Regions from separate parts of the Homo sapiens genome. Here regions 2, 3, 4, 5, 6 and 7 are each linked to region 1. Evidence: promoter capture Hi-C in 16 types of primary human blood cells and fetal thymus (Javierre and others, 2016). All regions are on one chromosome and are shown on one strand. Each heading gives the region's core, a stretch centred on a gene start or on the middle of the fragment in contact. The rest is flanking DNA. Distances are from core to core; before and after follow the strand shown. Region 1 holds the start of KPNB1 (karyopherin subunit beta 1). Region 2 overlaps CDC27 (cell division cycle 27). Region 3 overlaps CDC27 (cell division cycle 27). Region 4 overlaps SNX11 (sorting nexin 11). Region 5 has its middle 7.1 kb from the start of CDC27. Region 6 has its middle 18 kb from the start of ITGB3. Region 7 overlaps ITGB3 (integrin subunit beta 3).

Evidence for each region. Contacts are between HindIII fragments. The CHiCAGO score rates a contact against its expected background, and 5 or more counts as called.
Region 2: a fragment that was not itself captured here is called in contact with the fragment with the promoter of KPNB1 in region 1 in 6 of 17 cell types (erythroblasts, megakaryocytes, naive B cells and 3 more); the score reaches 19.0 in erythroblasts.
Region 3: a contact is called between a fragment that was not itself captured here and the fragment with the promoter of KPNB1 in region 1, in 5 of 17 cell types (erythroblasts, megakaryocytes, fetal thymus and 2 more). The highest score is 10.9, in erythroblasts.
Region 4: a contact is called between a fragment that was not itself captured here and the fragment with the promoter of KPNB1 in region 1, in 1 of 17 cell types (neutrophils). The highest score is 5.1, in neutrophils.
Region 5: a contact is called between a fragment that was not itself captured here and the fragment with the promoter of KPNB1 in region 1, in 3 of 17 cell types (erythroblasts, neutrophils and non-activated CD4 T cells). The highest score is 7.1, in erythroblasts.
Region 6: a fragment that was not itself captured here is called in contact with the fragment with the promoter of KPNB1 in region 1 in 1 of 17 cell types (erythroblasts); the score reaches 5.4 in erythroblasts.
Region 7: a fragment that was not itself captured here is called in contact with the fragment with the promoter of KPNB1 in region 1 in 1 of 17 cell types (erythroblasts); the score reaches 7.0 in erythroblasts.

Annotation. Positions count from the first base shown.
Region 1 is chr17:47,648,618-47,651,244 of GRCh38, forward strand. It overlaps KPNB1 (karyopherin subunit beta 1), which reads left to right and starts at 1,302. Exons shown (of 22, transcript NM_002265.6): 1 at 1,302-1,667; 2 at 1,769-1,827. The coding sequence starts at 1,628. KPNB1-DT (KPNB1 divergent transcript) reads right to left here and starts at 811. Exons shown (of 4, transcript NR_171700.1): 1 at 779-811. RefSeq lists an enhancer at 1-302 and silencers at 703-972, 983-1,032, 1,043-1,222, 1,653-1,722, 1,833-1,972 and 1 more. The HindIII fragment of the contact is 6,441 bases long and covers 1-2,627 here.
Region 2 is chr17:47,160,592-47,163,218 of GRCh38, forward strand. All of the region lies in intron 4 of CDC27 (cell division cycle 27), which reads right to left. Among named protein-coding and RNA genes, the nearest start is that of CDC27, 27 kb to the right of the region's middle. The HindIII fragment of the contact is 220 bases long and covers 1,215-1,434 here.
Region 3 is chr17:47,177,310-47,179,936 of GRCh38, forward strand. All of the region lies in intron 2 of CDC27 (cell division cycle 27), which reads right to left. Among named protein-coding and RNA genes, the nearest start is that of CDC27, 11 kb to the right of the region's middle. The HindIII fragment of the contact is 6,719 bases long and covers 1-2,627 here.
Region 4 is chr17:48,109,126-48,111,752 of GRCh38, forward strand. All of the region lies in intron 1 of SNX11 (sorting nexin 11), which reads left to right. Among named protein-coding and RNA genes, the nearest start is that of SNX11, 2.7 kb to the left of the region's middle. RefSeq lists a silencer at 341-514. The HindIII fragment of the contact is 3,741 bases long and covers 1-2,627 here.
Region 5 is chr17:47,195,066-47,197,692 of GRCh38, forward strand. It overlaps a transcript of MYL4 not described here. Among named protein-coding and RNA genes, the nearest start is that of CDC27, 7.1 kb to the left of the region's middle. The HindIII fragment of the contact is 3,103 bases long and covers 1-2,627 here.
Region 6 is chr17:47,234,989-47,237,615 of GRCh38, forward strand. No RefSeq gene overlaps it. Among named protein-coding and RNA genes, the nearest start is that of ITGB3, 18 kb to the right of the region's middle. RefSeq lists an enhancer at 2,312-2,627. The HindIII fragment of the contact is 1,167 bases long and covers 736-1,902 here.
Region 7 is chr17:47,259,586-47,262,212 of GRCh38, forward strand. The region is part of intron 1 of ITGB3 (integrin subunit beta 3); the gene reads left to right. Among named protein-coding and RNA genes, the nearest start is that of ITGB3, 7.1 kb to the left of the region's middle. The HindIII fragment of the contact is 884 bases long and covers 854-1,737 here.

The DNA of each region.
Region 1 (2,627 bases), core at 52-2,551:
GTTTCACCATGTTGGCCAGGATGGTCTCGATCTCTTGACTCGTCATCCGCCCCCCTCGGCCTCCCAAAGTGCTGGGATTACAGGCGCGAGCCACAGCGCCCGGCCCACGTTTTCTTTATATGCATTTTGCTAAGAAAAGGCATTCATGAGTTTCTTCCGGGGTTGAGAACTGAAACAGGTTAAGAACCACAATCCTTTATTCCTGTACACACATTCTTTCTGGTTCGAGGTTGGGCCTTTACAGGGTACTTTTGGAGGGTGAAACATTTCCATCCTGTCAAGTACCTGGTAGCTATGGATGGGGGGTCTAAGAGGAGGAATCCCTTAGCTCACCCCTAAGCAAGTCAGATTTATCACAGCACAGGTCTCAAGCCCCATATAAGCAGGCTTAGGGGACTCCTTGGAGAGGAAGCTGCTTGTAGGGACAAGGGCCGTCAGGAGAGCTTGAGCTTATCAAGCCACTAACCAGCTGTGTGACCTTGGACAAGTTCCAGACCCTCTCTGGGCTCCTGAACCCATTCCTTACCAAGCCATTAACCAGCTGTGTGACCTTGGACAAGTTCCATACCCTCTCTGGGCTTCAGTTTCCACATCTACACATTGGCAGTGGAGCCACATGGCCTTACGGATCCCTCCCAGCCGAAAGCAGGGTACCAAGCCGACCTAGCCATTAAAGCAGCTTCCTGTGGGCGCGGCGCAGGACTTCAACAGTCCCCCCTCCCCCGCTCAGGCCCGCGAAAACCTCGCGCAACACGCCCCTCGGAGCGACGGCGCTTACCCAACCGCAGCCCCAGCGCTCGAACCCAGCTCCGCCTCTTCCCGGGGGCGTCCCATCGTGCCCCGCGCCGGGCTCCTAGGGTTGCCGGGCACCTCCCGCCTTCCCGCGCCCCGACCCCGAACTCCTCTCCTTAGTTCTCCCGGGCACCCTATCCTATCAACGCCTACTATCCCAGCCAATCGCGCAGGATCCGAGTCGTGCCTCCGGTCCACCCTCCTCCCAGCGCTCAGCCGGTCTGAGCTCAAGGCCTTTACCAAGCCCACCCAATCAACGGCGGGCTCTCTCCTACCCCATCCCAATCTCCCTCCCCTCGGCCAATCCGCGCGCTCCATTCCGCTGCCCGCCCAGCCAACCCGGGCCTTGAAACCAGCAGGCGAATGGGCGCGAGACGGCCCTTCGACGCTGAGCGCCTGGCCAGTTAGGGATTCCGCGTGGCCAGGACAACGGCCAATCGTCGTGGAGCGCGGCGCCTCCGCGGAGAGGTCCGGTCCGAATATCCCTCCGCCTTCCTCCCTCCCTCGCTCCCTCCCTGCGCGCCGCCTCTCACTCACAGCCTCCCTTCCTTCTTTCTCCCTCCGCCTCCCGAGCACCAGCGCGCTCTGAGCTGCCCCCAGGGTCCCTCCCCCGCCGCCAGCAGCCCATTTGGAGGGAGGAAGTAAGGGAAGAGGAGAGGAAGGGGAGCCGGACCGACTACCCAGACAGAGCCGGTGAATGGGTTTGTGGTGACCCCCGCCCCCCACCCCACCCTCCCTTCCCACCCGACCCCCAACCCCCATCCCCAGTTCGAGCCGCCGCCCGAAAGGCCGGGCCGTCGTCTTAGGAGGAGTCGCCGCCGCCGCCACCTCCGCCATGGAGCTGATCACCATTCTCGAGAAGACCGTGTCTCCCGGTAGGACGCAGGAGCCGGGGGTAGGGCTGAGGTGATTGGGGTGGGGGAGGGGAGGCCCGGCCCCTCTGACCCCGCTCCGTCTCCCACTTTCCTCCCCCTAGATCGGCTGGAGCTGGAAGCGGCGCAGAAGTTCCTGGAGCGTGCGGCCGTGGAGAACCTGGTGCGTGCTACCCCGCCGCGCCCATCCCGCCGCGTCCCCATCCCCTGCGTGCGGGGCCTTCCCGCCCTCCCGGAGGCCCAGGCCTCGGGAACCTACCCCGCCCCATCCCGTCCCCCTCCCCCCTCCCCCTCCCCCCCCAACCCGGTCCAACCTAACCCCGCCATCGGGAAGCCGGTGGGTGTGTCCCGCCCCGGGCCTCGCGACTGGCCAATGGCTTGGCGCGCCGAGCTGCCTGCCGCCCAATCGTTGCGCGGCCTGAGGGCGGCGGTGCAGCGGGAGGGAGAAAGAGGGAGGGAAGGGAAGTTAGGTTGCGCGGCGCTGCGTGTTCAGCAGGGGTGGGGGCGGGGGAGTCGGGCCTAGGGGCCATGTGGAAGCTCCGGGCCCGGCCGCCCGCCCTGTCTGACCCCGGCCGGCTTCTCCTTCCTATCCCGTGGCCCCTGTGGCTCTCCCCACCTATTTCCTAGAGCTCTGCCCTTTCCTAGCTACCTTGGTCTGTACTCATGGCCAGGCCTGGCACCCGACTGCCTCTTAACCCATTTCCACTGATATTTTTCCCTCTTTGCTCGGTTATTCCTCTCTTGGGGTTTTTTCTTTTTCTTTCTTTCTTTTTTTTTTTTCTTCTGACCTGGATGAATAGAGACCTAATCACTAGGGATCTGCACCCAGAAAACAGACTGAGGCTCATCTTTGAGATGGGGCCTGTTTGCTGATGAAATCACAGGGGAAAGTTCCTCGTTTTTCATATTTTAAAATTTAAGGGGTCCGGAGAAAATGAAGCTAAGTCCGCTAGAGACTGGTCC
Region 2 (2,627 bases), core at 75-2,574, 490 kb before region 1:
TTCAGGTAAAAAATACAACTTACCTGGTCTGAAGTTCAAATGCTTCAATATCAAATGGAAAAAAATTCAGAACAGCAATTCTTCCAAAATTCTAAGGTTTTATATATAAAGGACCAGAAGAAATCTAACCGAGATCCTCAACTGAAACTATCAGGTAAAATGTATACATCATCTGTTTATGTGCGGAATGTCAGTATAACCTCAGAGAACTATGAAGAAGGTACCCTTGGGGAACCAGATATTAGTTTGCCTCACTGCCAAATTTTCAAGTGAGTAAAAACTAGAAATAAGTGATATGACAAAGAAAGTACTACCAGTTGAAGGATATCTAGCTTCCCACACTTGTGTAATTTAAGCCAATAAACAAATGGACAAAGTAGGAAGCAGAAGTAGGATGCAGACTTTTGGAAAACATAAATAAGTTTTATCAAAGTCTGTATCTAAGATCATTTAGATCAAAAATTTCTTTCTTTTTTTTTTTTTTAAAGGGATAGGATCCTGCTATGTTGCCCAGGCTGGACTCCTGGCCTTAAGTGATTCTCCTGCCTCAGCCTCCCAAGTAGCTGGGACTACAAGTGCATGCTACCATGGCTGGCTAATTAAAAAAAAAAAAAAAAGTTAGCGGTGTTTTGCTATGTTGCCCAGGCTGGTCTCAAACCTGGGATTACAGGTGTGAGCCACCACAACTGGCCTGAAATTTCTTAAATATAATTGTCATAAGACTGACATAATCACCCACCAGGGATAGAGTGGTAATTTAGAAATAGGAAATGAAGAAAGGGCATACAAAAAAACATTTGCTGAAAGTAATAGGGTGGAACGTGGCAAATCAGTGCTTGGGAGCTTTTAACATAAGGCTAAGCAAAAGAAAATACACAGCCAGGCACGGTGGCTCATGCCTGTAATCTCAGCACTTTGGGAGGCCAAGGCAGGTGGATCACTTGAGGTCAGGAGTTCGAGACCAGCCTGGCCAACACGGTGAAAACTCGTCTCTACTAAAAACATAAAATTAGCCAGGTGTGGTGGTGGGCACCTGTAATCCCAGCTACCTGGGAGGCTGAGGCAGGAGAACTGCTTGCATCCTGGAGGTGGAGGTTACAGTGAGTCGAGATCATGCCATTGCACTCCAGCCTGGGTGACAGAGCGAGACTCTGTCTCAAATAAATAAATAAAAACAAAATACAGTGAAATCTCATTGTTTGAGGATTATCCTAAGCTTCAAATAGGTCAATGACCATTTCTTCATTTTTTTTTTTTTTCTTCTTGTAGTTCCTAAGTAAAGCCATTCCCTCAGGCCTCAGTCCCTTCTTTAGAAAATCTCTGTCTGGTGAGAATCCCTTCTACAGAGATGACAACTAAATCTACTTCTAACTTCAACCTTACCTTTCCTTTGCCTGATGGGCAATTTCATCTAGGTTTTACTTCCTTATCTAAAGCTTAGTAAATTCAAAGTCAAGTTCATCTTTTCTCCCCAAAATCTGTTCTTTCTCTTTCTTTCTGTGTGTGTTTTAAGGACACCACTATTTTTACAAGTTTACAGACTCAAAAATCCTACTTAGAGATAGCACTGACTCCTTCTTCTTCTCCTCTGACCTTCACAGCCAATCAGCAACGAAGCCATAATTCATGTACTTTCATTTTATTTCTGGCTTAAGTTCCCTCTTTATTTTCACTGTTAGGATCCTTATTGCTTCTCATCTAAACCATCAATAGATTCCTAATTAATGTCTTGCCTCTTCATCCCTTCAATTCATCTATCTAGGCCCCTTCTGTCTCATAATACTAACCATAGTCTGCCTATTTATCTTTTCAAGCATTCTCTCTTGCAAGTGATTATAAGCTCTCTGAGAATGGAGAATTAGTCTTTGCCATTTTTATACTACCTGTTTCCTGTTTTCAAGTAGCCCCGTCCCCTTGCTTTGCCAGCAGAATGTGATATAAAACAGACATTTTTATTAATAATTTTAAAAGTTGCATTAGTGAACTGTATGAATTATTTACATGGCCAGAAAGGAAGTAGACAAACATTGATTAAGCAAAGACAAAATAATCTGTTACGGGAAAAATATTCTGGAAAAGTAAGAGGGGTGATCCTTTGTGCTGAAAAGTCTCATTTCCAGTATTACTTAAATTAAAATTGTATTATTTTTATATTAGGAAAAGAAAAAATCAAACTTGGTTAAGTTGGCAAGGCTGATTTTTATAATGAGTAATTATTTCATGAATAGACCACAAAACAGAAGAAATTTAAATCAAAATTCATGTCTGTTAAGAGATTAGATACACATATGGATAGATATATGTATAAATCACATAAGAGCTAACTAGGGAAGAAGTCAGGTGTGGAATTATAATAATCTAGCCTGGAAGATAAAACCTCTAATTATTCAATAGAGAGATAAAAGGGGACAAAGATTTAAGAAAAGTAAAGTGCTGGGGTACTCTAAATTTAGATCGAAGTTTTTATTAAAATTGAGTGATACACACAAAACCCAGCCAGAAGTTTCCTAAAGAACTGGCATAAAAAATATTATTTAAGTGGTATTGGGAAGAAATAGGATAATTTAGGAATCAGACTTAGTATCAGTTGTGTCCTAAACATAGAAGTCTCATGTGCTGTAATAGAC
Region 3 (2,627 bases), core at 59-2,558, 470 kb before region 1:
CTCCCGCCTGTATTCCCAGCACTTTGGGAGGCCGAGGTGGACAGATCACTTGAGGCTAGGAGTTTGAGTCCAGCTTAGCCAACATGGTGAAACTCCATCTCTACTAAAAATACAAAAATTAGGTGGGCGTGGCCGCAGGCGCTTATAATCCCAGCTACTCAGGAGGCTGATGCAGGAGAATTGCCTGAACCTGGGAGGCAGTCAGCCGAGATTGGGCCACTGCACTGCAGCCTGGGTGACAGAGGGAGACCCTATCTGAAACAAACAAACAAAAACATTTTGCAGTGTGGGATGTAAAACCCACATTAATTTAAGATAAAACAGTAGACCTTAAGCAATTTTGAACTCTGGGCTAGGACCCTCAAAATAACCTAGGAATACATGTTGACACAAGGTTTTCAGCTGTTTCTCTTTCTTTTCCTTTCACTAGTTACAATCCTCTTAGTCTCATAGAGTTCCATAGGTAGCAATTACTTATGAAAAAAATGCACACAAAACTTATGTCTGGTTGATTTTCTGAACATAACTCTTATTTTATATGTGTGTGTACACACACACACACACACACACATATCTCCAAAGAGCTATCATAGTAGTTGCATTAATGTATTTTTTTCCTCATAGTCTAACACTATTTCTATTTGTTGTATAGCACTTATTTCTATTCATTCTTAACAGTTAATTAACAAAAGAGAAAAACCTTGGTCAAGGGGATCAGGTATTGGTGGTGGGAAAGAAAAATACATGCTTACAATGGGGGAAGGGAATTTATTGGAGGGAGATGGTAAAATTAGGACAGTTTTTCCAAAACAGCAAATCTCAACTCACTAGTGGACTGTGATGTCAATTTAGTGGTTATCAGCCTACGTTAAAACAACAACAACAAAACCACTCAATGGAAAATATTAGAGTGTATCATATCTAATAAGGGTAAAAAAAATCTGGCCAGGCCACAGTGGCTCACGTCTGTAATCCCAGCACTTTGGGAGACGGAGGTGGGAGGACTGCTTGAGACCAGGAGTTTAAGACTGGCCTGGGCAACATTGTGAGATCTCGTGTTCTCAAAAATACAAAAATTAGCTGGGCATGGTAGCATGTGCCTGTAGTCTCATCTAGTAGGGAGGTTGAGGTGGGAGGATTGTTTGGGCCTGGGAGGTCAAGGCTGAAGTGAGAAAAGATCACATGACTGCACTCCAACCTGGGTGACAGGCTATCTCAAAAATAAATAAATAAATAAAAATAAGAAAAAAAAAAAAAAACCCTGAAAAGTCACTGTATTAGGATATGTTAGGGGAGAGGGAACCTGTAAAGGACTTTCTATGTGCCAGAAACTACAGCAGACTCTTTACATATTTTACTGTATTTAGTCCTTAAAACTATCTTGTTAAACAGATATTTCTCTTCTATTTTAAAGATAAGGAAAATAAGGCTCAGAATGACTTTTGGCTTAAGATCAAATGGCAAATGAGTATCTGAATTCAGATTCTCTTTCCTTTTTCCGTTTTTTTTTTGAGACGGAGTCTCGCTCTGTTGCCCAGGCTGGAGTGCAGTGGTGTAATCTCGGCTCACCGCAACCTCCGCCTCCCGGGTTCAAGCAATTCTCCTGCCTCAGCCTCCTGGGTGGCTGGGATTACAGGCATGTGCCACTACACCGGCTAATTTTGTATTTTTTAGTAGAGATGGGGTTTCTCCATGTTGGTCAGGCTGGTCTCAAATTCCCAACCTCAGGTGATCTGCCCACCTCAGCCTCCCAGATTCTCTCTTATATCATTCTGCTGTTCCTTCTTTCTGATCCCACAGTCTCAGGCCGACTATAAATCTCGAGAGAAAGACAAATGGGCGACAAAGAACTAGTGAAACTGAGAAATTATTTCAAGAATTTGACTTACAGAAGATCCTACTGATCAACTGCTTTAGCCTCATGCCTTGTTGGATGTCTTTCTCCAAATATAGAAACTGCTACTAGTGACATAGGAGGCCCCTGAGCAAACAGGTTACATCTAGCATATCAACTGATATTGTCCACCAAGAAAACTGTTGCCAAGAATTCTGAGGTTGGTTCAGTGGGAATGAGTACTGTAATGGATTAGTGATGCCTACTATGGTTGCAAATCAGAGAAGTGGTAATTGCTACTCTTGGGAAAGCGGAATCAGACAGATTACTAGTTACCGCCTGTGGACATTAGTCTCAGTTCTTCATCCAGAAAATGGCAATAGCAATGTCTATTTGATAGGATTATTGAAGATTAAATTAGTAACTAATATTAAATACTTAGAGTACCTAGTATACAGTAAGAAATCAATAAGTGATAGAATTATTGTTATTATTACTGAGCCAGGATAGTATCTGCTCTTACTACACTTAATTCTAAAATCTTTCCTCATATAAATATGGTTAAACCGAATGGTGAGGTTCTATATTGAAAGAAACTAACATTTACTGAGCAACTTTCCAAGTGCCAAGCATTGTATCAGGTACATAAATAACGTGGATTAAACAGCTTTATGTGGACTAATCTGGGAATCTTGCCACCAATTCTATGGGAAAATCTAATTGAATTCTAAACCATGAATTTACAATTTTTAAGAGCCTAACTATAATAAACTAGAAACTGCCTATTCTTTAA
Region 4 (2,627 bases), core at 69-2,568, 460 kb after region 1:
TTTTGCCTTGTTGGCCAGGCTGTTCTTGAACTCCTGGCCTCAAGTGTTCTGCCCGCCTCAGCTTCCCAAAGTGTTGGATTACAGGCGTGAGCCACTGGGCCAGCCCAGTGTTTTTAAGGACAGTTACAACTGAAACTTTCTTTTTTTTTTTTTGAGACGGAGTCTCACTCTGTTGCCAGGATGGAGTGCAGTGGTGCGATCTCGGCTCACTGCAACCTCCACCTCCTGGGTTCAACTGATTCTCCTGCCTCAGTCTCCCGAGTAGCTGGGACTACAGGCACGCGCCACCATGCCCAGCTAATTTTTGTATTTTTAGTAAAGAAGGGGTTTCACCATGTTGGCCAGGATGGTCTCAATCTCTTGACCTCGTATTTCGCCCGCCTCGGCCTCCCAAAGTGCTGGGATTACAGACGTGAGCCACCGCACCCGGCCCATCTGGAGGTTTTTTGTTTTTTGTGTTTTTTTTTTTGACAACGGAGTCTTGCACTGTCGCCTGGGCTGGAGTGCAGTGGCGCGATCTCGGCTCACTGCAACCTCCGCCTCCCGGGTTCAAGTGATTCTCCTGCTTCAGTCTCCCAAGTAGGTGGGATTACAGGCGCCTGCCACCACGCCCGCTAATTTTTTTTATTTTTAGTAGAGACGGAGTTTCATTACGTTGGCCAGGCTGGTGTCTGGAGGTTTTTAAAAAGCCAGTTCATAGCTATTTGTTTCTGAGTGGTATTGGCCCCAAAGGAAAGAAGAATTTCTTCATGAAGGTAGTGCAGGGCCCTATACAAACTTCCTGAGACCAAGGGTATGATGATCATTTCGTTCCTAAATTATGGTCCTGAATTTGACAAACCTTTTTCAAGGCACAAAAGATGTATGAGCTCCACTGAGTGGATGACTGTGATTTCCTTGTCATCGTCTTTCCCGTTGTTAGTTTTGTTTAAAGACACTTCAGAATATTTAACTCTCTGCTCCTGTGCTGGCAGTTTATCCAATGCCTGCAAAGAGAAGAGAAAAAAAAAACTTAAGGAGGTTCATTGTTCACAGCAAATAGGTCTGCTCTTTTTGGTCTCAGACATTTGACTGATATCTGGAATGTTATATATGGGTTGTTATGGAATTGGAATTTCCCACCTTTCAGTTCAGGACCCCTTGGAGGTGGTGGCTGCATCAGATAAAAATCAGATTGTCAGCAAGAATACCATTTAAGATGGTACTGAAATCACAAAACCTTAGGTTTGCTCAATATTGTGTAGCCCAATTTTGTCATGGACCATGCAGCTTCGTTTCTGCATGCAGTGTTTGTCTGTGGAGATACTTCTGGTATATTGGAGAGAATTGAAAAAGTGGTTTGCTTTGCTAATTTCATGGTGTAAATGAGTTCCCCTTCTTTTGAAATGTTAGCCTTGTGTTAGCAAAACATAAAATAGAAGGAAACTCATTACACAGTGTTCTAATGGTAAGGCAGAACTAATAAGAGAATGTGTTTAAAATTAATTGTGGGACTGTAAAAATGAGTGGGTATGTGAATGAGTACGGGATGGGGGAGGAGAGGGAGGGCTTAGAGATATTAGAGATAGTCTTGTTTTCCCAGGAGCCAGCCTGGATCATTTGTTGGCAGTACATATTGGCTGAAGTCAGTTTTCATTTCAAGGTAAATTGGAAAGGGAAATTAAACCTTATTGTTTCTCTCTTAAGAGAGAAGGGGGTGCAGGCGGCAGCCAGGGTGGATGCTGTTGGAATAGTTGTAGAAGTAACAAGATTAGTGCTGTATTTTAACAGAAGGTGACATCATGGGCCCCATTGGACTTGAGTAACCCCGTGCTGCAGCCTTCATGGTCCCCTTGTCGGAGTGGGTGATGTCGCTATACACGTGAACTGCCACATTGGGGAAAATCAGGGGCTGAGGCTTTAATGAATCTTTACAAAGGAGCAGAACGCATCCTGAGTCGACCTGTGCAGCTGTGGGGTGCTTGGACAGAAGTACAAACCGGATGGCATGTCAGGAGAGGAAGTAATTAGAACAATTGGCTCGGGTTCCAGAGTATGGATTGGATAAGGGGAAGGTCCCAACTGGGCAACCCACTCAGGTGCTCCTTGGAGTGCTCTAGCTCTATGATTCACCTGTGGGGAGTTGACTGGTTGTTAGTGAGACTGGGAGAAATGCAGAAGCATTGGTGTTTGTGGGGACTTGGTTGTCTCTAAACAGCCGGGAGGGGGTGCTGTTAGGCTCGCTTTCAAAGCTGTGATCTGGCAGGGCGTGGTGGCTCCCGCCTGTAATCCCAGCACTTTGGGAGGCCGAGGAGGGCGGATCACTTGAGGTCAGGAGTTCGAGACCAGCCTGACCAACATGGAGAAACCCCGTCTCTACTAAAAATACAAAATTAGCTGGGTGTGGTGGCACGTGCCTGTAATCCCAGCTACTCGGGAGACTGAGGCAGGAGAATTGCTTGAACCCAGGAGGCAGAGGTTGTGGTGAGCCGAGATTGTGCCATTGCACTCCAGCCTGGGCAACAAGAGTGAAACTCTGCCTCAAAAAAAAAAAAAAAATGCTGTGATGTGAGTGCTCACCAGACCCTGTTGTGCCTGCATTCTTCAAGGCAAAAGTTTTACATCTGGACCCGCCTGTTCTGGCTGCG
Region 5 (2,627 bases), core at 46-2,545, 450 kb before region 1:
TTTTTTTTTTGAGACAGAGTCTCACTGTTGTCACCCAGGCTGGAGTGCAATGGTGCACTCTTGGCTCACTGCAAACTCTGCCTCCCGGGTTCAAGCAATTCTCCTGCCTCAGGCTCCTAAGTAAGTAGCTGGGATTACAGGTGCATGCCACCACAGTGGGCTAATTTTTTTTTTTTTTTTTGAGACGGGGTTTTGCTCTTGTTGCCCAGGCTGGAGTGCAATGGCATGATCTTGGCTCACCGCAACCTCTGCCTCCCAGGTTCAAGCGATTCTCCTGCCTCAGCCTCCCAAGTAGCTGGGATTACAGGCATAGACCACCATGCCCAGCTAATTTTGTATTTTTAGTAGAGACGGGGTGTCTCCATGTTGGTCAGGCTGGCCTCGAACTCCCGACTTCAGGTGATCTGCCCGCCTTGGCCTCCCAAAGTGTTGGAATTACAGGTGTGAGCCACCGTGCCCAGCCAAGTATTTTTAGTAGAGACTGGGTTTTACCATGTTGGCCAGGCTGGTCTCCAACTCCTGATCTCAGGTGATCCGCCTGCCATGGCCTCCCAAAATCACCCACTCTCTTGCCTCACAGGCTTTGCATGTACTGCACTCTCCCCAGAACCCTCTTAATTCCACTCTTCATCTTAATTCTATTCTTCATCTGGCTAGCTCTGCTTATCCTCCAAATATACTTCTTCCAGGCCTTTTCTGCTCCTCTGGGATAGCTTGGCTCTCCCTGCTGTTACTCTAGTGCTACCAGACTTGTCATTACTCCCATCACTCTTTGCTGTAATTAATTATCTGTTTAATTGTCTACTTCTGGTCTAGTCTATAAGCTCCATGAGGGCAGAAGCCCTGTCTGCCTTGTTCCCTGTGTATTCTCAACACTTAGTACAGTATCTGGCATCTAATGGGAACTTAGTATTATTTGTTTAATGAATGAATAGAATAAACTCACTGTGTTCCTAGTATTATTTTTGTTTGTTGATTGATGTTATAGACTGGTTGCATCTCCTCAAAATTCATATGTTGAAGCTAACCCCTAGTGTGGCTGTATTTGGACATGGGGTCTCTAAGAAAGTGATTAAAGTTAAATGATATCATAAAGATGGGGCCCTGATCCGACAGAATTAGTGTCCTTATAAAAAGATGCACAGGAAAGTTTGATCTCTCTGTGGGCATTCACCAAAGAAGGGTCATAGGAGGACACAGGGAAAAGGCCAACATCTAGGAAGAGAGCCCTCACCAGAATCTGTTTTGCCAGCACTTTGATCATGGACCTCTAGCCTCCAGAACCATGAGAAAATAAATCTCTAATGTTCAAGCCACCCGGTGTGTGGTATGTTGTTATGGCAAGCCCAGGTAGACTTATATAATTGATTATTCTGTTTATGTCTTGTCTCCCTAATGCAAGGGCCAAGTCTTATATTTCTGTATATTGTTCTTTGAAAAACACCACATATGTAGAAAATTCTTAAGAAATATATTGACTGAGTGATTAAAGTGGAAGTCTTTCTACATATTATTCTTTCTTCCTGAAATACATTTCCCTTACTCTTTGACCAGTGAAATTCTATTTATTCTTCAAGCCTCAGCTTCAGTATCACATCCTCAGAATATTCCTAGACCTACCTAATTTAAATTCTTAGCTCCAGCCTGTTATTCTCTCTCATGCCATTTTTGTTCTTTTCTTTCATAGTATGTATGGTAATTTTAATCGTATTTGTTTAATATAAGCTGCATTGAAGGCAGGGACCTTGGTTTGAACATTATGTCCCCATCACCTAGTTCAGTGCCCTGCACAAATATTATAAAATATATAAATATTTTTTGTTGTTGTTGTTTTGCTAAAATATTATAATATTTCGCTCTTGTTTCGTTAAAATATTGTAAATATATAAATATTTTTGAAATATCTGATGATTGAATGACTTGATGACTTAATTTCATCTCACTGATCTAAACATGATGCTTTTTTTTTGACTCCCCCTTTCTGGGCCCAGAGAACATGCTGGTCTTGCACATAAATCCTTAAAGGGTTTTTTTTTTTTTTTTTTTTTTTTGAGACAGAGTCTCGCACTGTCGCCCAGGCTGGAGTGCAGTGGCGCTATCTCGGCTCACTGCAAGCTCCACCTCCCGGGTTCATGTCATTCTCCTGCTTCAGCCTCCCGAGTAGCTGGGACTATAGGCGCCCGCCACCACGCCTGGCTAATTTTTTGTATTTTGAGTAGAGATAGGGTTTCACCGTGTTAGCCAGGATGGTCTCGATCTCCTGACTTCGTGATCTGCCAGCCTTGGCCTCCCAAAGTGCTGAGATTACAGGCATGAGCCACCGCACCCGGCCAAATCCTTAAGGGATTTAAAGTCAAGGCAGTATCTGAAGTATTGAGACTATTCAGAAAATGCATCTTGATTGAGATGAGCTCCGAGATGTGCTAAATGGCGTATGACTAGGGCGCCTAGGGCTGACTCAAAAGCACAGGGAAATAAACTACAGACAGCCCCCAAGTTATGATTTTTTGACTTTATGATGGTGTAGAAGCAATGTGCAGTCAGTAGAAACTGTACTTCAGATACCTATACAACCATTCTGTGTCTCACTTTCAGTACAGTATTCAATACATGAGATTCAGCACTTC
Region 6 (2,627 bases), core at 69-2,568, 410 kb before region 1:
CAAATAATTTAAAATGTGTAAAGCACTTAAAACAGTGTCTGCAATATAGTAAGGACTCAATACACATTAGCTCTGTAGGGGAGGAGGGTATCTTAAGCAATGGGAATAACCTTAGCAAAAGAAGGAAAATGAAAGAACCATTATTCTTTTAGAAAACTCAAAAATAATAGAAATGGCTGGGTGTGGTGGCTCACATCTGATATCCCAGCACTTTGGGAGATCAGGGTGGGAGGATCACATGAGCCCAGGACTTCAAGACCAGCCTGGGCAACACAGTGAGACCCTATCTCTACAAAAAGTGAAGAAAAAAAAAAAGCCAATGTGGTGGTGTGTGTCTCTGGTCCCTGCTACTCCAATGGCTGAGGTGGGGGGATCACTTGAGCCTGGAAGGTCAGTGGTGCAGTGAGACTTGATTGTGCCTCTGCACTCCAGCCTGGGCAACAGAGTGAGATCCTGCACCCGACCAAAAAAAAAAAAGAAAGAAAGAAAGAAGAATAAAAAATGCCTAGAAGACAAATGGAGAGAGAAATACTGCTCATAATAGTAAGAGCACCTCCCTCTTCTGCATACTTCCCCTGTGCTTATGCTGTTTCAAGTGCTTTGTGTACATTATTCATTTACCCTTCCCAGAGATTCCTCATGAGGTAGGTGTGGTTATCCCCATTCTACAGATGAGAAAACTGAGGCTTCTGGAGGTTAAGTAACTCTCACCAGGGCACTCAGTGAGTGGGTGGAAGCTTCAGGAATCAGGCCCACATCAGCTCGCTGCCTGTGTTCTTAGCGCCATGCCTTATTGCCCTTTGCTTTCCTTGGCCCCACCCCAATTTTCTCTACCCAATGCCGTGAAGTAGGAAACAAAAACTACCTGGTTGTCCCTCACCACCAGTCAAACTTTTCACCTTGTCAAGTCACTTTCTCCTCCTGGGCTTCAGTTTCCTTTTGCAGTATAGGAGACAAAGGTGCTCTGGGATCCCTTCCAGCTCTTTTTCTCCCCTCTTCTCCAGCTTTGGTTACTCAGCCATCATGTACCATTTTGGCCACCAAATAACATGACACTAGGAATACTCAAAGAAGTGTAGAGCAAAGCATTCAGGCCTTGGTACAAACCTGCTAGCAGGTAAATAAATAAATAAATAAATAAATAAATCCGACCAACACTTAACAAAATTAGGGCAGAAATACTGAAATGATTTAGAGTACAGAAATGATCAGAGACTAGAGGTGAGTTAGGGACACTTCCCAGGGATTAAGAGCCAAAGAGACCTTAAATTAAAGGAAATGAGGAATGCTGCTTGCGGCTCCAGTTGGGAAGGTGGAATGAGGGGATGTGTCCTGGTGACCCTGTCCCCTGGTCCTTTCTTTGTGGCATCTGGTTGCAATGAGTCTTGTGGGTTGTGGGAGAAGAGATGGAGTGGGTAGGGAGTAGCAGGAGAGACAGTAAGTCACTTGTGTCATGTGATTTGTAACTCAGGTATACCTATTACTAAATTTCTTTTTTCCGTGAATGGGACTCAGATTATTTGGACTTGGTAGTGTTATTGGATCTTTGGAGTGTTGCTTTTCTGGTGGGAAACGTCTGTGGCCAACAGCGCCTTTGCCCAAGTTTTGCTCAGGCCTACTGGGCTTGTTCCACCCACTCGGCCTGGCAGGCCATGCTCCGCTCACATTATCGGCCTGAATCCCATGCCTTCAAGGGAGACTGCAAGTCAGACATGGAGTGGTAAGGGGTGCATGAGTGAGCATGGGGTCTAGCCACTGTGCGCAGTTGGACATGCCGGCTGCTGCCACAGGGTGGGCAGCTCCAGGTGGTAACATGGGTGCCAGCTCTCTGTGAGGCTGCTGCTGGACTGGGTGCACAAATAGCTTCCCTGGCTGGCAGTGGGGAATGCAGTGGCACCCAGAAGCTTGGAGATGCCAGGAACTGCAGGGCCCCAAAGAGGGAGTCACAGCCCTGGCTTGGGGAGCTCCCAGGTCTGAGATTCCTAAAGGGCCACAGATTTTCTCTCCTCTTTGCCCCCAATGGGGCAAGCAAGCGGCATGTTTCAGCACTGTTTGTGTTACAGCTCTTTTAGCCTTGCCATTTGGCAGGTCCTAAGTTATTGCCCTGCAACCAGGAAGAATGAGTACATAGACAAGTGGAGGGTGAGCAAGATGAAGAGGAGCTTTATGGAGCAACAGAACAGCTCAGAGGAGACCTGTAGTGAGCGGCTCCTCTCCATAGCCAGGGTGTCCCAATAAGTGTTCAGCTCTCAGCAGAGAGGGTAGCTCCTCTCTGCAGCTGGTCATCTCCTCAGCTCTCAGCAGACAGGAGACCCTGGGGTGGGCAGCTCCTCTGGGGAGGGCAGCTCCTCTCTGCAGCTGGTCATCACCTCCCTGGCTGTCATGCTTTCCCTCCTCTGCTCAGTCTGGCTGAGTCCAGGGTTTTTATGGGCTTCATAAGGGAGGAAGTGCATGCTGATTTGTCCATAGGTGGCTATGGGCAGGGTTCAGAGAAAAGCACTTCAGGTTCCCTCTCTGGTCTTGGACTGGCAGCTGCCCCCCACCCTGCCACTCCCTTGAAAGTGGAGCTTCACTGGGGACCCTCCCTCTTCCACCCAGGAGCCTGTCTGCCTCCTGTCCACTTCATG
Region 7 (2,627 bases), core at 46-2,545, 390 kb before region 1:
AAAAGTCAAAATAACAAATATTGTTATTTCTTGGCTGGGCGCGGTGGCTCATGCCTGTAATCCCAGCACTTTGGGAGGCCGAGGCGGGCGGATCACCTGAGGTCAGGAGTTCAAGACCAGCCTGACCAACATGGAGAAACCCTGTCTCTACTAAAAATACAAAATCAGCTGGGCATGGTGGCATGCGTCTGTAATCCCAGCTACTCGGGAGGCTGAGGCAGGAGAATCGCTTGAACCCAGGAGGCAGAGGTTGCAGTGAGCCGAGATTGTGCCATTGCACTCCAGCCTGAGCAACAAGAGCAAAACTCTGTCTCAAAAAACAGAACAAAACAAAACAAATATTGTTATTTCTCAAATAGGTTCATCCACATAGGATCATTGTCAGTCGTTAAAATTGCTGGTTCCCTTCTAATTCTATTCCCCTATAATGTTCATATTAATCAGGTGGTGTGTTCTGTTTAGACATTTCCCCTCGCATTTATGTTTATTTGTGTGTGTGTGTGTATTCCTTTACTTAAACCCATGATATATAGTACTTCCTTTTATATAGAAAAAAGCTCAGTGTGGAAAGAACAACGTATCTGGAATTAAGAAACCTACATTCGATTCACAGTTCTGCAGGCTTTTTCATCAGCTTGCTGGGTGACTTTGAACAAGTGACTTTACCTTTAGGCATCAGTCTCTTGGTGTCCCAGGGGCTGCAAAGTGGGACAGAGAAGATGAAGGGAAATACTTCAATTTGCTCCTGCCCCTTCCCCACCACCTTCAACTGGAACTCCTTTAACTAATTAACAATTTGGAGTTCATGTAAGGATTTCTTTGGGAAAAAAAGAAGATCCTGCTGTTAAAATCAAGCTTGAAAAACTTTGCACTAGAAGAGAGCTCCAGAAGTTTGGCAAAAGACATATTCAGTAGCCACTTAAAAAGTCCCTGTAGTCAACCCTACATCTCTTTGCTAATGGAAATTTTGGATAGAGAAACCTGGGTCTGTGAGATCCACTGATGGCTCCAGACCCCAACTTTAGCCATCGCACGTGTTGAACTCCAGGTTGAGCCTTTGCTGGAGCCGCCTGCAAGGAGCATGTTTGACCAATCCCCAGTGGAGGGGAGGGTGGTGTTTCCTTTCTGGGACTTCCACAAGTTGAGAACAGACCATGCTGCCCTGGGCAGTTCTTGAAGGCTGTGAGAGTGGGCCTGACAAAGTTTATTCCTTTTTTTTTTTCCATTCTCTTTTATTATTATTATTGTTTGAAATTGACAAATAAAAATTATGTATATTTATGATGTACAACATGATGTCTTGAAATATGTGCGCATTGTGGAATGGTTAAATGAAGTTAAATAACATATGCATTACCTCACATACATACTTCTGATTTATTTGTGGTGAGAACACTTAAAAATCTCCTCCCAGCAATTTTCAGGTAGATGACATACGGTTATTAACTATAGTCACCATGTTGTACAGTGGATCTCTTGAACTTATTCCTCTTGTCTAACTGAAAATTTATATCCCTTGACCAGCATCTCCTCATGCAAACCATACCCCAAAGCTCATTTCTGTGTTCCTGCTGAGTTTGCCATTCCAAGAGGTTTTGATGCTGAAGGTGCAGTTTGTGGAAAGCCCAGCAGACTCTGGGGAGCCTACATTTAAATAAATGCAAATGTCGACAGGGAGGCAGAACAGAGGACATTTCAAATTAGCTTTAATTTTCTTTTAGCTTATAAAAGTAATTAAGCTTATTATTTAAAAAAAGGCAGCTCAGAAATATAATGCAGAAAGTACCAGTACCAGTTCCTTGTAGTCTTGTCCTTAAAGATAACCACTGTTGATAGTTACTGCAGAGTTTTTTTCTATGTATTTGTCAACATATATAATTATTTATCATTATTGTTATTTCTCAAATAGGATAATCAATAATAGGATCATTGTCTTTTTTTTTTTTTTTTTTGAGATGGAGTCTCACTCTGTCGCCCAGGCTGGAGTGCAGTTGTGTGATCCCAGCTCACTGCAACCTCCGCCTCCTGGGTTCAAGCAATTCTCCTGCCTCAGATTCCCGAGTAGCTGGGATCACAGGCATTTGCCACCACGCCCAGCTAATTTTTGTGTTTTTGATAGAGACAGGGTTTGGCCATGTTGGCCAGGCTGGTTTTGAACTCCTAACCACAGGTGATCCACCCGCCTCGGCCTCCCAAAGTGCTGGGATTACACGCATAAGCCACCGCACCTGGCCCATTGTCTCTTAATAATATACTCTAGGCATCTTTTTATGTCAGTTTATGGCTTTCCATTATTTATCCCAAGAGCTATAATTCTAGCCATAAGGCATACTCTTTGTTATATGGATATATCAGAATTTACTTAACCAATTCCCTGTTGGCAGACATTGGGATCATTCCCAATTATTTGCTACTACAAATAAAGCTGCAGGGGATATCCTTATTCATTTATTATGCACCTTTGTTCAAGTGTTTCTACAGACTTAATTTCTTGAATGAAAGTTGGTGGGTCGAAGGGCATGCGTATTTTAAATTTAAATTTTAGTAGGTGTTGTCAATTTGTCCTCCCAAACGGTTGAACCAGTTTGCTTTCCTACCAAGACAGGCTGGCAGTAAGGACTGGTGTT